Linked DNA regions of Homo sapiens: regions 2 and 3 are each linked to region 1. The links are contacts of gene promoters, found by promoter capture Hi-C in blood cells and fetal thymus (Javierre and others, 2016). All regions are on one chromosome and are shown on one strand. The core of a region is centred on a gene start or on the middle of the fragment in contact, and the rest is flanking DNA. Distances in the headings are between cores, read along the strand shown.

Region 1 (4,020 bases), core at 911-3,410:
CCACCAGCTGAGCTTTCTTGTTCTCCACCAAGGTGGTGACGGTGTTAACTCCTAGAACACACAACCACTTTGTGAGCACTCACAGGGCCTGCTCTAGTCACAAGAAGCTGCTGGGCTCAGCTGCTGACTCAGTGTTAAAAAGCTCGGTTTTACTCTTCACAGTAATTTCAGGCCAAGAAATTTTACATCACTGCAACAGCCCGCCCCCAGTGTTCACCCTAAGGTGGGGCCTACTCACCTGCTCGAAGGACAGGTGGTCTCTTCGTTGGGACGTCCCCTTTGCCAGCAGCCTTCTTCTCGGCCCGGGCCAACAGTCTCTGCTTCTTCTCTTGCTTTGTCTCTGGTCTGTACTTGTGGGCCAGCTTAAGCAGCTGAGTAGCTGGAAAAACACTCTTCAGTTTAGGCTTGGAGTCAAGGTTCTAATCCTTGTCACTTAACACTTAATAACAAATGCTGGACTGCGGTCCTGCTATATGACTATAATTTAATGACAACTGCAGTTCAAGAAGCCTAAGACCATCCCCCTCATGTTCTGGATGAAATAAGGAATCCTTGCCTGAGAAACTCCTTTCCACGCCACAGAACCTCACCTGTTTGGCGGTCCAGGGCCTGGGTGAACTGGTTAATCGCAGGAGGCACTTTCAGCCGCTTATAGAGGATGGCTCTCTGCCGCTGCAACCTGATATAGCGGGGCCATTTCACAAAGCGGGTGAGGTCTCTTTTGGGCTGGATGTCCTGTCCTGAGAAGTAAAGGGTGACACCGAGTGAGGCTCAAATTCCATGTCAAGTTCATGTCTGGGGCCACTAGGAAGGGTGTTGGTGCATCAGCGATCTTGGTGGTTTAAAATGTCATCACCATCTCTCAGATAGCAAATATTCTTTTACATCATCTGCACACAAACACCTGAGAACAAAGAGCACGATGCTTTTCCTCATCTAACAAGAAGCCAAGGTGCCACGAAGTACAGCAGAATTGCAGTCCTAGTACCTCGCTGCGACACTGCTACTGTACTTGTTTCCAGATGGCTAAGCTGAATTCAAGGCCACTACCATATTGAGCTGAATGCTCGCTCAGCAACTCCCAATGAAAGCAAGAAGCATGTATCATTGCCCCCGTCTCTAAGAGACACAAATTAAGGACTGCGACCACTTTACACCCACTAAAACCTACAAGATACAACACAACCCAATTACCACCTTCCCTTGAGAAAAACATAGACCGTTTTCATTCTGCCGTTTGTTACTTACCAATGCCAAAATTCTTAGGCCTTTTCTCAAACAGGGGATTCACCACTTTCTTAGCCTCCTGCTTCTTCACGACAGCTGGGGCCGGAGCCACCTTCTTTCCCTTGGCCTTCTTTCCTTTCGGCTGGGCAGAAAGAAAACGTCAGTTAAACCGCCGCCTCCACTCGCTTCGTCGGGGGTAGGGCTCAGGCTGGCTCCTCCAAAACAAGGGACGCTGACAGCACCTGCCTGAACTAAGCTGGCGAGCAGCTTTCTGCAACCCCCCAGCACCACCCCTCGACAGGAGCATCTCACATTCAGCCGCACAAGCATGCAGCCCCGGGAACCCCGAGTGGCCAGAGCAAGGCTAAGCCCGAGACCACGCTCTCTTCGCGTCGCCCACCCAGGAGACACCCCGGACTCATGACTCCTCTGAGTCGCGGCCCCACAGGCTCTAGAAGCAACAGGGGCGGGCTCAGAACTCGTCGCTCACAAGGCCTCTGGAGCGGCCCCCAGCAAGCCCGAGAGACGCTAGGGCTCCGAGCCCCGCACTGCGGTGCTCCAGGCCTGCGACACCCAGCCCTGCGACACCGGGAACAACGCATTCCGCTCTCGGCCGCCCGGGGCTCTAGTCCATCTCAATGTCTCCGTGCCACACCAAGTGGGGCTCTAATCCACCTCGGTGTCTCCGTGCCACACCGAGTGGGGCTCTCCTAGCGCCAGGAGGAGCAGGAGGCCCTCCGAGGCCGCGCCTGGAGGAGGATGGCAGCGGATACAGCCGGAACCTGGCTATAGTGCCACGGAACTACAGCTCACTCACCATCTTGGGCGGCGGGAGGAGAGAGAAAGGAAAGGGAATTGTGGGTAATATGTATGCGGCCTCGGAGATCGCGAGAGTTGATACCGGCACGGGATTTCGGATTTAAAGCAACAGCATTCCTATAAAGCTAAAAATCGAGGCGGGGCCGAGAGGCTGCGGCGGCTGACTAGGTTTTCGGACCGCGGCGCGGCGGGGAAGAGAGACTGCGGCGGGAGGGCCAGGCCGTGGGAGAGACGCGGGAAAGTGCGGGTCGCAGAGGCACTTGACCACCCCGCCCTAGGCCGACCCGGCGGACGCGGCGTCTGGTGTGCGGGCGCTGGGGCGGGTATGAGGGTGTGGTGGGGGGTGGGGATGGAGGGGGGGTGGGTGTGTGGGCGGGAGTGGGGGTGGGTGGGTGCGTAGGCGCTGGGGTCGGAGATCCCCTTTCCTGCGTGTGACTTATTTCCCACACCCCGCCAAAAATGGGCACAAACAATGCGAGTGCGTCCAGGAGTCCGCTCGGTCGTGCGCCAGACTCCGAACCTAGGGGGCCCCGGGCCCTCCCTGAGCACCGCGCGCAAAGGCCCGGCCCCAGGGCCAGGCAACTCCAGCGCCGAGGCCGTCCAGTGCGGCTGGAGGGCAGAGGCCGAGAGGCGCGGCGCGGAACTTGAGCCCCTTGTCCCGGCGCACCGGGGAACCATGAGGGATGTTAAGCGAGGGAGTGGAATTACCCCCCTTTTTTTTTTCTTTTGGAGACGTAGTCTCCCCCTGTCGCCCAGGCTGGAGTGCAGTGGCGCGATCTCGGCTCACTGCGACCTGTGCTTCCCGGGTTCAAGCGATTCTCCTGCCTCAGCCTCCCGAGTAGCTGGGATTACAGGCGCCTGCCATCACGCCCGGCTAATTTTTGTATTTTTAGTAGAGTTGGGGTTTCACCATGTTGGTCAGGCTAGTCTCAAACTCCTGACCTCAGGTGATCCCTGCCTCGGCCTCCCAAAGTGCTGGGATTACAGGCGTGAGCCACCGCGCCCGGTTGGAATGACCACTTTTTAGGACCTCTTCCCTGCCGCGCAGAGACTGGAGGGAGCGGGGCCCGCAGTGCAGGGATGAGGTCTGGAGCGGGGCAGCCTGAGTGGGAGTGGAAGGAAAGCGTGGATGTAGGCGGTGCAGAGGGGTCGAATTGGAAGGACTCTTCGGATGGGAGGGCGTGGCGAAGGTGGCGGCGGGCTAAGAAGTTAAGCCAAGGGCTGGGGACGGGGAGCTGGTGTTGAGTTTGCAGGGCTCCCTGGGACACGCTGTGGGCCTGGACGTGAAGTCTGGACTGGAGCCCTGGACAGGGCTTGGAGGGCTGGCCAGGAGTTCCAGGATGAGCTTGCTCTGGCAAAGGCGGGGCCAGTCCTGGCACCCCCTGCGGTGTCTGCTGATGGAATGAGTTCATCTGTGTTTCAGTGATTGACTTTATTTGGCAGAAAGGGAATCCCCAGAAATCTGCGTGTTCTGCTAAGGTTGGGGCATAGAGGGTGGCTGGGGTAGACTCTGCCTGCACTCAGAGGTCTGTGCTGCACTCTAGGTCCCAGGTCTCCCCGCTGCGCTGCTTGAGGCTCGGCCATGGCCCAGCAGAGAGCCCTGCCCCAGAGCAAGGAGACGCTGCTGCAGTCCTACAACAAGCGGCTGAAGGACGACATTAAGTCCATCATGGACAACTTCACCGAGATCATCAAGACCGCCAAGGTGGGGGTGGGGTGGCCCACCAAGGGGAGCAGAGTCTGAGAAGGGGTGGAGACAGGAGAGGCCAGGGGCTGAGCAGCGCGAGTGAATAGTGTTCTAGGCAGGAAGCACCCAGTGCACAGGGAGCTGGTCAGTAGATAAGCAAACCAAATAATGGCACGTCCAGCCCTTACTAACAGTATGGATTTGGATGGAGATTTCACTTTTTAGTGCCTCAGTTTCTCCTGCATGGTGGGGTCCTTGTGATGACTGGTGAGTTTATCTGTGTAAAA
Region 2 (3,751 bases), core at 894-3,393, 150 kb before region 1:
ACACGCGCACACACACGAGCTCACACGAGCACACACACACGTGTACACACAGACTCACCAGCCCTGGGGGCCCCTGGGGCTTCTTGCTAGGTGAGGCCCATTCCACAGACAGAACGAGACAGCCTTGATTGTTGTCCCAACAGAATCCAGATGAAGAAAACGCAGAAAGAGAGCCAGACAGTGTCTGCACGCTGAGGCGCCTGCTCTGGCCCTGAAGGGCGTCCACCCGCAGGCGTTGATGGGCCACAGGCAACAGCCAAGAAGTTGGCCCGACTCACCCCATCACCGCGGCTCCTGGGGCTCCCACCAGGGTCCACAGGAGCACGCTGAGGCCGTGTTCTGCCTGGGCCAGGGCTGTCAGACCTCCATGGAAGGGTCCTGGGGAGACACAGCTGGAGGTGTCTGGAAGCTGCGTTCATGTGGTGAGCCCATCTTTTCTACTTGGATGGTACATTCATAAGGCCCCCGCCCATACAAGACCCAGGAAAACAGGGCCAGGAGCTGGAAGGGAAAAGGCCCCACAGCCACAGAGTGAGGCCGCCAGCCTGGGGGACGCAGGGGAGGCCGGGGCTGGGTGGGTTCAAGGCCAGTTCGTGTCCCAGCCATGGGGGCGGGACACCCGGGCAAGCTTTCCAGCCCCCTCTCTATCAACTGAGCTGGCAGGCCTGTCCGTTTCAGGACAGCAGAGCCCTGTACCCATCCTCCATGCGCAAGAAGCAAACCCCACTCCTTATCTGCAGGAGGAGGCGGGCTTCTCTGTCGATATGGGCAAGCCCCTCAGGCAGACATTCCCATTCTTCCAATATAAGGCCTTCAAACATTTTAGGAGGCATGCAGGCACCCCATCTCCTCCTCCCCCTGAAATCCCAGATGTAATTACAATACGTGTGGCATCCCAGGGCGACAGGACCAGCTGGAAGCCGGACCCTAGCCATGTGAACACAGGTACACGAGACTCACAATGGGCACTCACACGCAGACACCCACACGGCCCCTGCAAGCGTCGCCCACACCCAGGCCAGCGCTGAGCCGTCCAGTCTGGGCTCTGCCTTGGCAGACACCAGGGCAGATGCACCTGCCGCCAACGGCCCCAACACCCACCCAGGGCCACCTCCCTCCCAAGTACCTGGGGCAGCCTCGCCCTGCATAACCCGATCCCCTGGCTGGCCCCACACATGTGTTTTTTCACTGAGCTCAGGCATCACCTCCTCCAGGAAGCAGCCTGTCCCCGCTCTCCCATGTCCCGGGTCCTGTGCCCCTCTGACCTGCCCCGGCTCTCCTGTGTCTGGGGGCCTGTGCCCCTCTGCCCTGCCCCGGCTCTCCTATGTCCCGAGTCCTGTGCCCCTCTGCCCTGCCCCGGCTCTCCTGTGTCCGGGGACCTGTGCCCCTCTGCCCTGACCTGGCTCTCCTGTGTCTTGGTGCCTGTGCCCCTCTGCCCTGCCCCAGCCTGCCGAGGGTGTGATGGTTTTCAGTGTGTCTCCCCTCTGGAACTGGTCAGCCCTCAAGGCAGGGCTGACCCCCATCCCAGTGCCTGGTATGAAGCTGGGCCTGAGCTTCCTCAAAAAGCGTCTGATGCACAAGCGAATGTGGTGACAATACCCACGAAGGGCCACCCTGAGCCTGTCAGATAGGAGGCGGCATTGCTTTGCTGAAGCGTGGGAATGCACGCAGGAGTGTGAGCACAGGCCCTGGCCCTGGACCGCCCCGTTCACCCAGGGCCCTGCTGGTCCTTCAGGCTCGAGAACACGATGTCCACAGGCTCCCAGGAACTGCAAGTGAGCAGAGTGGCCGAGAGCCGTGACCCCAGGACAGCAGCTGAGCAACAAGGGGGCCCCCAGCAGGCCAGGCAACCCAGGGCCCCAAGTGACATGTCCCCTCGCCCCAGGCACCCTTCACCCCAGCCATGGCCTGCATAGCAAGCCACTGCCATGCAGCCTGGGGAGCTCCAGGCTTAAGGTCCTGGCAGTGACTCTGGAATGGAAGTGCCAGGGCACAAACTCCAGGACCACCCCTTACCATGACCTGCAGGGCCGTGGGCAGGCAGGAAGCCCCCTCATGGCCAGGTTTCTTGAGGGCACCGTGGTTTCATGGCAGCATCTGCCTCCCAGGGCTGCTGCGGAGGGGAGAGGAAGGGACACAGAGTTCTGGAGAGGTGCTGCTTGCCAGTGGGGCCCCTGCAGATGGACAGAAGCCTGAGGGCGGCCCCCTCTGATTTCCAGCCTTCCCTCCAACCTTCTCCTGCATCCACCTGGCTGCCATTTGGGCAATTCCCAGGAGGATGAACAGAGTAGCCGAAGCCCGCAACACAGACATTTAACTTAGGAAAGATCTGATTGGTTCGGACACCCCTCGCCCCGGGCAGTGAGAAGAGGGCCTGGGCAGACCCTGCCTTGTTCCCCGTGGCCTCCCCAGCCCCCAGTCCCTGCCACCCCTGAGCCAGGGAAATCCTTCTGCGCTGGAAGTGCGGCAGCCCACAGAACAGAGTGCAGCCTGGGCATGCCCTCGGCCCTTTCCCTGAACCTGTTTCTTCTTCTGTAAAGTGGGAGAGAAGGACACGCACAGCTGGCAGAGGGCGCAGGGAGCATGACCACCAGCCGAGCACGCTGTGCGTGTGGGAAGCACCCAGTGGCAGCTACAAACAAACAGGCCCCGGCTCCCCTGTCCTCCTTCTTCTCGCCAGCAACCCCAGAGATCTATTCCGGGGACCCGGCCACAGCTGGGCTCCCGAGCCCCACATCCCCCAGCCCGAGGTGCCCTCAGGCCTTCCAGTGGAACATTTTTGACATAGTCTAAACCATCAGCAAAACAAGATGAAAATTCAGTAATTGCTTTTGGCAGGGAGTCCATGGGCCAGCACAGAGGCCAAAAATAACCCCGGGGAAGTTTCCTGGGCCACCTGCAGCCCTGGGGGCCCGTACTAGGCTCTGTCTGAACACAGGCCAGGACGGGTCTCGGCCTGGCCCTGCAAGCCAGCCTGGACAAAGCAGGGAGGCGGGCAGGGACTCGGGGGGCAGCGGGACAGAGTGAGGCTGTCACTTAGCACACTTCAGGCCAGGAAGTGCCCGGCCATCCGGAAAAATGTAATGTCATACTTTAGCAAGAAAAGCAGCTGTCATGCTACTTAGCAGCCCACAAATAGTTGGCTGAGTCCTAGAGCGGGTGTTGGCTGAGCCTGGGAGAGCAGAGATGCCAGGCTGGCAGGGCGGTGTGGGCCTCGTCCGGCCAGGTGGTATTCCCTCCCAGCCCCTCGCTCCCCCAGTCTCCCCCAGGCCTGGTCAGTCCCCAGCAGGCTGTGGGGGGCGCGAACCCCCTGAGGTTACAGCCCAAGGTCGCTGCACATCTGGCCACGGTAGGGGGACCTCGTCTGACCCCTCCCTTAATGCCTGCTGGGGAACCCCAGAGGGGACAGGAGCTCACTTCACCGGGTCAGAATCAGACCTCTCACCCACATCCCAGGCAGCCTAATCCTTTCCTCCAGGCCTCAGGGCCTCATCTGTAAACTGAGGCTGTCAAAGATGGTGGTCAAGGTACCAGAAGCCCATTAAGTAGCCAACCAGCCAGGCTCAGGGCTGACCCCCGCGCTCTCCTCTCCCCCATTTTACCGATGAGGAAATGAAGGCTCACGGAGGGAAGACCACACAGCGAGGATTGAAGCTTGGGTGGGACCCCAGGAGCAGAGCGGGCAAGGACGGCGGCTTCCCAAGGAGGGCTGATTGGCCTGCAGAGGGGTCAAGGACAGTGGTGTCCCTAG
Region 3 (3,708 bases), core at 386-2,885, 170 kb after region 1:
TTGCAGTGAGCCAAGATCGTGCCATTACACTCCACTCCAGCCTGGGCAACAAGAGCGAAACTTCGTCTCAAAAAAAAAAATCCAAGTGATGCCAGCAAAAGATACATTGTGCTTCCAGACATCACGCACTCAAGATTTGGGAATTACTTATGTTGATACAAGTGATTGCTTGTATAATGTAACTGGATTAAATCCAGTAGGGTCTCTTTTTTACTAGATATGGTTATATACCCTTACAACATGCTATAAAGGGGCCACAGAAAAGTAAATTTCCCACTGGACGTTGTTCAGGAGGTATGCAGATTTGTGGTCGAACAAACCTGACTGATCTCTGCTCAAATGCAACTAGGTGGCCCTCTTTTCCAATCCCCAAGGGTCTATACTGGGTCTGTGAAGAGTCTGCGTATCCTGTTCTGCCTCCTCATTGGTTGGGTTCTTGTTATGTGGCCTGGCTTGCTCCTGCCTTTCAAATAGCTTCCCCTGAAAATTCTCATGATGGCCCTTATGATTGGAGGCCAAAATGATCAATAACTGAAATTAGCACTAGCCTTGAAATATTTGAGGATAAGCTCGTTTCTACTGAGGAAAGATTCCAGTGGGATTCCTGGGGGTGCACTCTTGGTGGTAGTGAGATAGCAGTTGTATGGAATTTAAAGCTAATTTGTAAATTGGGAAAAATCTTGGATTTTGTAATCAATCAGACCTCCCAGGGTTTCAGATGGGTAGAAGCTGCTCTCAGAAAGATAGATGACAGGGCTGGGCATGGTGGCTCACGCCTGTAATCCCGGCATTTGGGAGGCCAAGGCGGGCAGATCTCTTGAGGTCAGAAGTTTGAGACCAGCCTGGCCAACATGGTGAAACCCCATCTCTACTAAAAATACAAAAATTAGCCAGGCATGGTGGCTCATGCCTGTAATCCCAGCTACTTGGGAGGCTGAGGCAGTAGAATCGCTTGAACCCAGGAGGCGGTGGTTGCAGTGAGCCAAGATAATGCCATTGCACTCCAGCCTGGGCAACAGAGTGAGACTCCATCTCAAAAAAAAAAAAGATAGATGACAACACGTGAATTCAGCAAAAACACTTACTGGAACATCGTGCAACCTCAGATCTTTTTGCTCAAGCTGGAAGCCTAGGTTTGGTGTTAAACAAAACTGAATGTTGTACTACTTATCTCTTACCTGATTTTGTTATTACAGGAAGCTTAATTTAAAAGGTGCTGATACTGCTGTTTCCTTAGACACTGCCACCAAATACATTAAAGACATCTCTCAAGAGAAAGGAGCCCATGACATGTTTACAATAGGCAACTAACGGTTTGCAGGCATCCTAAGGGTGGATGGCAAGCTTGGGTTTTCCAAGGGCTTCTAATCCTTATAATTCTTCTAGTAGGTTTCCAAGTTATTATGACTTGTATTACCAATGTAACAATGAAAATGAGTAACTGTTTAAGTCAGGCCACTTTACAGCAAACCATGGTCCTTAATCGCTATCATACTCTAAACGAGGATAATGACCAATTGGACCCTAACACTGTTGAACTGCCTATATTGTCTGAACCTTCACTTGGCTAATTTGGTTCGGTTCATTTCATAAGAACTCTCATTAAGGAGTACGCCTTGGCATTTTGATAGTATCCTCTTGATAGTCATAATAATCGTCACCCTGATACACTGTATCCTCTCAAGTCTTAAATGTTTTGTATGCAGCCATCCATTGAGAGTTGAATGGTCTCATTCCAACCAGGTCAAAAAGAACATAAAGAATCATTTAGCTGGTACAAAGCTGCAACTTGTGAATTCCATGTTAACACCAAAGAAGATGTGTGAGACTCCATACTGAAACTAAAGAAGACTTGTGAATTCCACACTGAGACCAAATAAGTCTTTAGGATGGTGACAGAGAGTGGCATCAATGCCTAAAGCTTCGGTCAATCTCTCTAAATTGAGAGGCTGACCAAAAGAGGGGAATTGTTAAAGCAAACTAAATATGGCCTAAGAAGGGACTCCCTACCTCTCTATTTGAGTCCTTGTGGATGAACCATAAGCTGGCTTAATAGGCAGACAAGATGGAAAACCCAACTTAGTAGTATGCACCTATAACAATGGCTGAGTGTTGGCCAATCCCAGCGGCCATACTTCAACCACTCATAGACTGCTGAGTGTTTAAACTGTGTTCAACTAAGGCAAACGCCGAGATGCAACCAATCTCTGTTTCTGTACTTCATTTCCAATTCCTGTACATCACTTTACTTTTTTGTCTATAAATTTGTTCTGACCACGAGGAACCCCCAGAGTCTCTGAATCTGCTGTGATTCTGGAGGCTGCCCGATTTGTGAATCATTTCTTTTTTATTTTTTTCCAATTAAACTCCATCAAATTTAACTTGTCTGAAGTTTTAACAGCTGGTAACACCAGCACCATAGCTTCCTGATGCATTCACTCATTCAGCAAATATTCTCTGGTCCTGCTGTGTGCCCAGCTGTGTGCCTCAGTGAGCGTGATCCGATGAGGTCACTCCCCACGTGGAGCTCACGCCCACTCTGTGACGTGCAGGGACGGTCCATGGGGTTAGCAGGGATGATGAGCACCGGGAATTGGCCATTTTATTAAAAGAGAGTCCTGTATTTGAAAGAAATAATGGAGAAAAGGCCTACTTGGCACTTGATCTTGAAAAATGAAATAAAAATATGAAAAATAAATGTAGCCTTTTTTGTTTGCTTGTTTGCTTTAAGACAGGGTCTCACTCTGTTGTCCAGGCTGAAGTGCAATGGTGCAATCTCACTGCATTCTCTCCCTCCCTGGCTCAAGCAATCCTCCCACCTTAGACTCCCAAGTAGCTGGGACTACAGGCACACACCACCACACCCAGTTAATTTTTGTATTTTTGTATTTTTTGTAGAAACGGGGTTTCTCCATGTTGCCCAGGCTGGTCTTGAACTCCTGGCTTCAAGGAATCTGCTCACTTCGGCCTCCCAAAGTGCTGGGATTACAAGTGTGAGCCACCATGTCCAGCCAAATGTATATTTAACAAAATGTGGCCCAGTGCAGTGGCTCACGCATGTAATCGCAGCACTTTGGGAGGCTGTGGCGGGCGGATGACCTGAGGTCAGGAGTTTGAGACCAGCCTGGCCAATATGGAGAAACTCCGTCCCTACTGAAAATACAAAAATTAGCTGGGCGTGGTGGTGGGCACCTGTAATCCCAGCTACTGGGGAGACTGAGGCTGAGAATCGCTTGAACCTGACAGGCAGAGGTTGCAGTGAGCTGAGATCATGCCACTGCACTCCAGCCTGGGTGACAGAGAAAAACTCTGTCCCAACCCCCCTCCCCCAGAAAAGGAAGCTATAATAGCAAGTATACACTGAGTTTTAGAAACAACAATGAATAAATAAGTCCACAGTAGATTAGGTACGTGTGACACAATTTTTACGACAAAATTATAGCGTATCAGCAGAAATCTTCTAGGGCCTCATTAATTTTCCTAAGGGTTCGTAAATCTTCTAGTGCTTAAATTGTTCTCTTTGAAACCGTCTGTCACATTATCTTTTTTGTCAGTTGTCTCTTCTTCCATTGCTAAGTGATCTGACTCCGCCAGGGTCTCCCTTGGCAGTGGCTTGCTGTGTCTGGACAGGCTGCCAGCAGCCCTTCCTCAGCCAGGCGAGCTCCGGTTTCTTCCCACGATTTGCATTTCCCTTTGCAATTGATTGGC

Evidence for each region. Contacts are between HindIII fragments. The CHiCAGO score rates a contact against its expected background, and 5 or more counts as called.
Region 2: a fragment that was not itself captured here is called in contact with the fragment with the promoter of MED22 in region 1 in 1 of 17 cell types (endothelial precursors); the score reaches 5.3 in endothelial precursors.
Region 3: a contact is called between a fragment that was not itself captured here and the fragment with the promoter of MED22 in region 1, in 1 of 17 cell types (erythroblasts). The highest score is 6.4, in erythroblasts.

What each region holds. Positions count from the first base shown.
Region 1 is chr9:133,346,271-133,350,290 of GRCh38, reverse strand. It overlaps MED22 (mediator complex subunit 22), which reads left to right and starts at 2,160. Exons shown (of 5, transcript NM_133640.5): 1 at 2,160-2,369; 2 at 3,591-3,751. The coding sequence starts at 3,629. RPL7A (ribosomal protein L7a) reads right to left here and starts at 2,073. Exons shown (of 8, transcript NM_000972.3): 1 at 2,045-2,073; 2 at 1,249-1,369; 3 at 591-740; 4 at 239-379; 5 at 1-51. The coding sequence starts at 2,047. It overlaps SNORD24 (small nucleolar RNA, C/D box 24), which reads right to left and starts at 895; the gene lies at 821-895. It overlaps SNORD36B (small nucleolar RNA, C/D box 36B), which reads right to left and starts at 197; the gene lies at 127-197. RefSeq lists enhancers at 1,652-2,121, 1,983-2,277, 3,582-4,020. The HindIII fragment of the contact is 16,795 bases long and covers 1-4,020 here.
Region 2 is chr9:133,491,678-133,495,428 of GRCh38, reverse strand. It overlaps LOC102723855 (a long non-coding RNA gene), which reads right to left and starts at 3,718. Exons shown (of 3, transcript XR_428608.4): 1 at 59-3,718. The HindIII fragment of the contact is 3,026 bases long and covers 631-3,656 here.
Region 3 is chr9:133,172,203-133,175,910 of GRCh38, reverse strand. No RefSeq gene overlaps it. Among named protein-coding and RNA genes, the nearest start is that of GBGT1, 10 kb to the right of the region's middle. The HindIII fragment of the contact is 577 bases long and covers 1,347-1,923 here.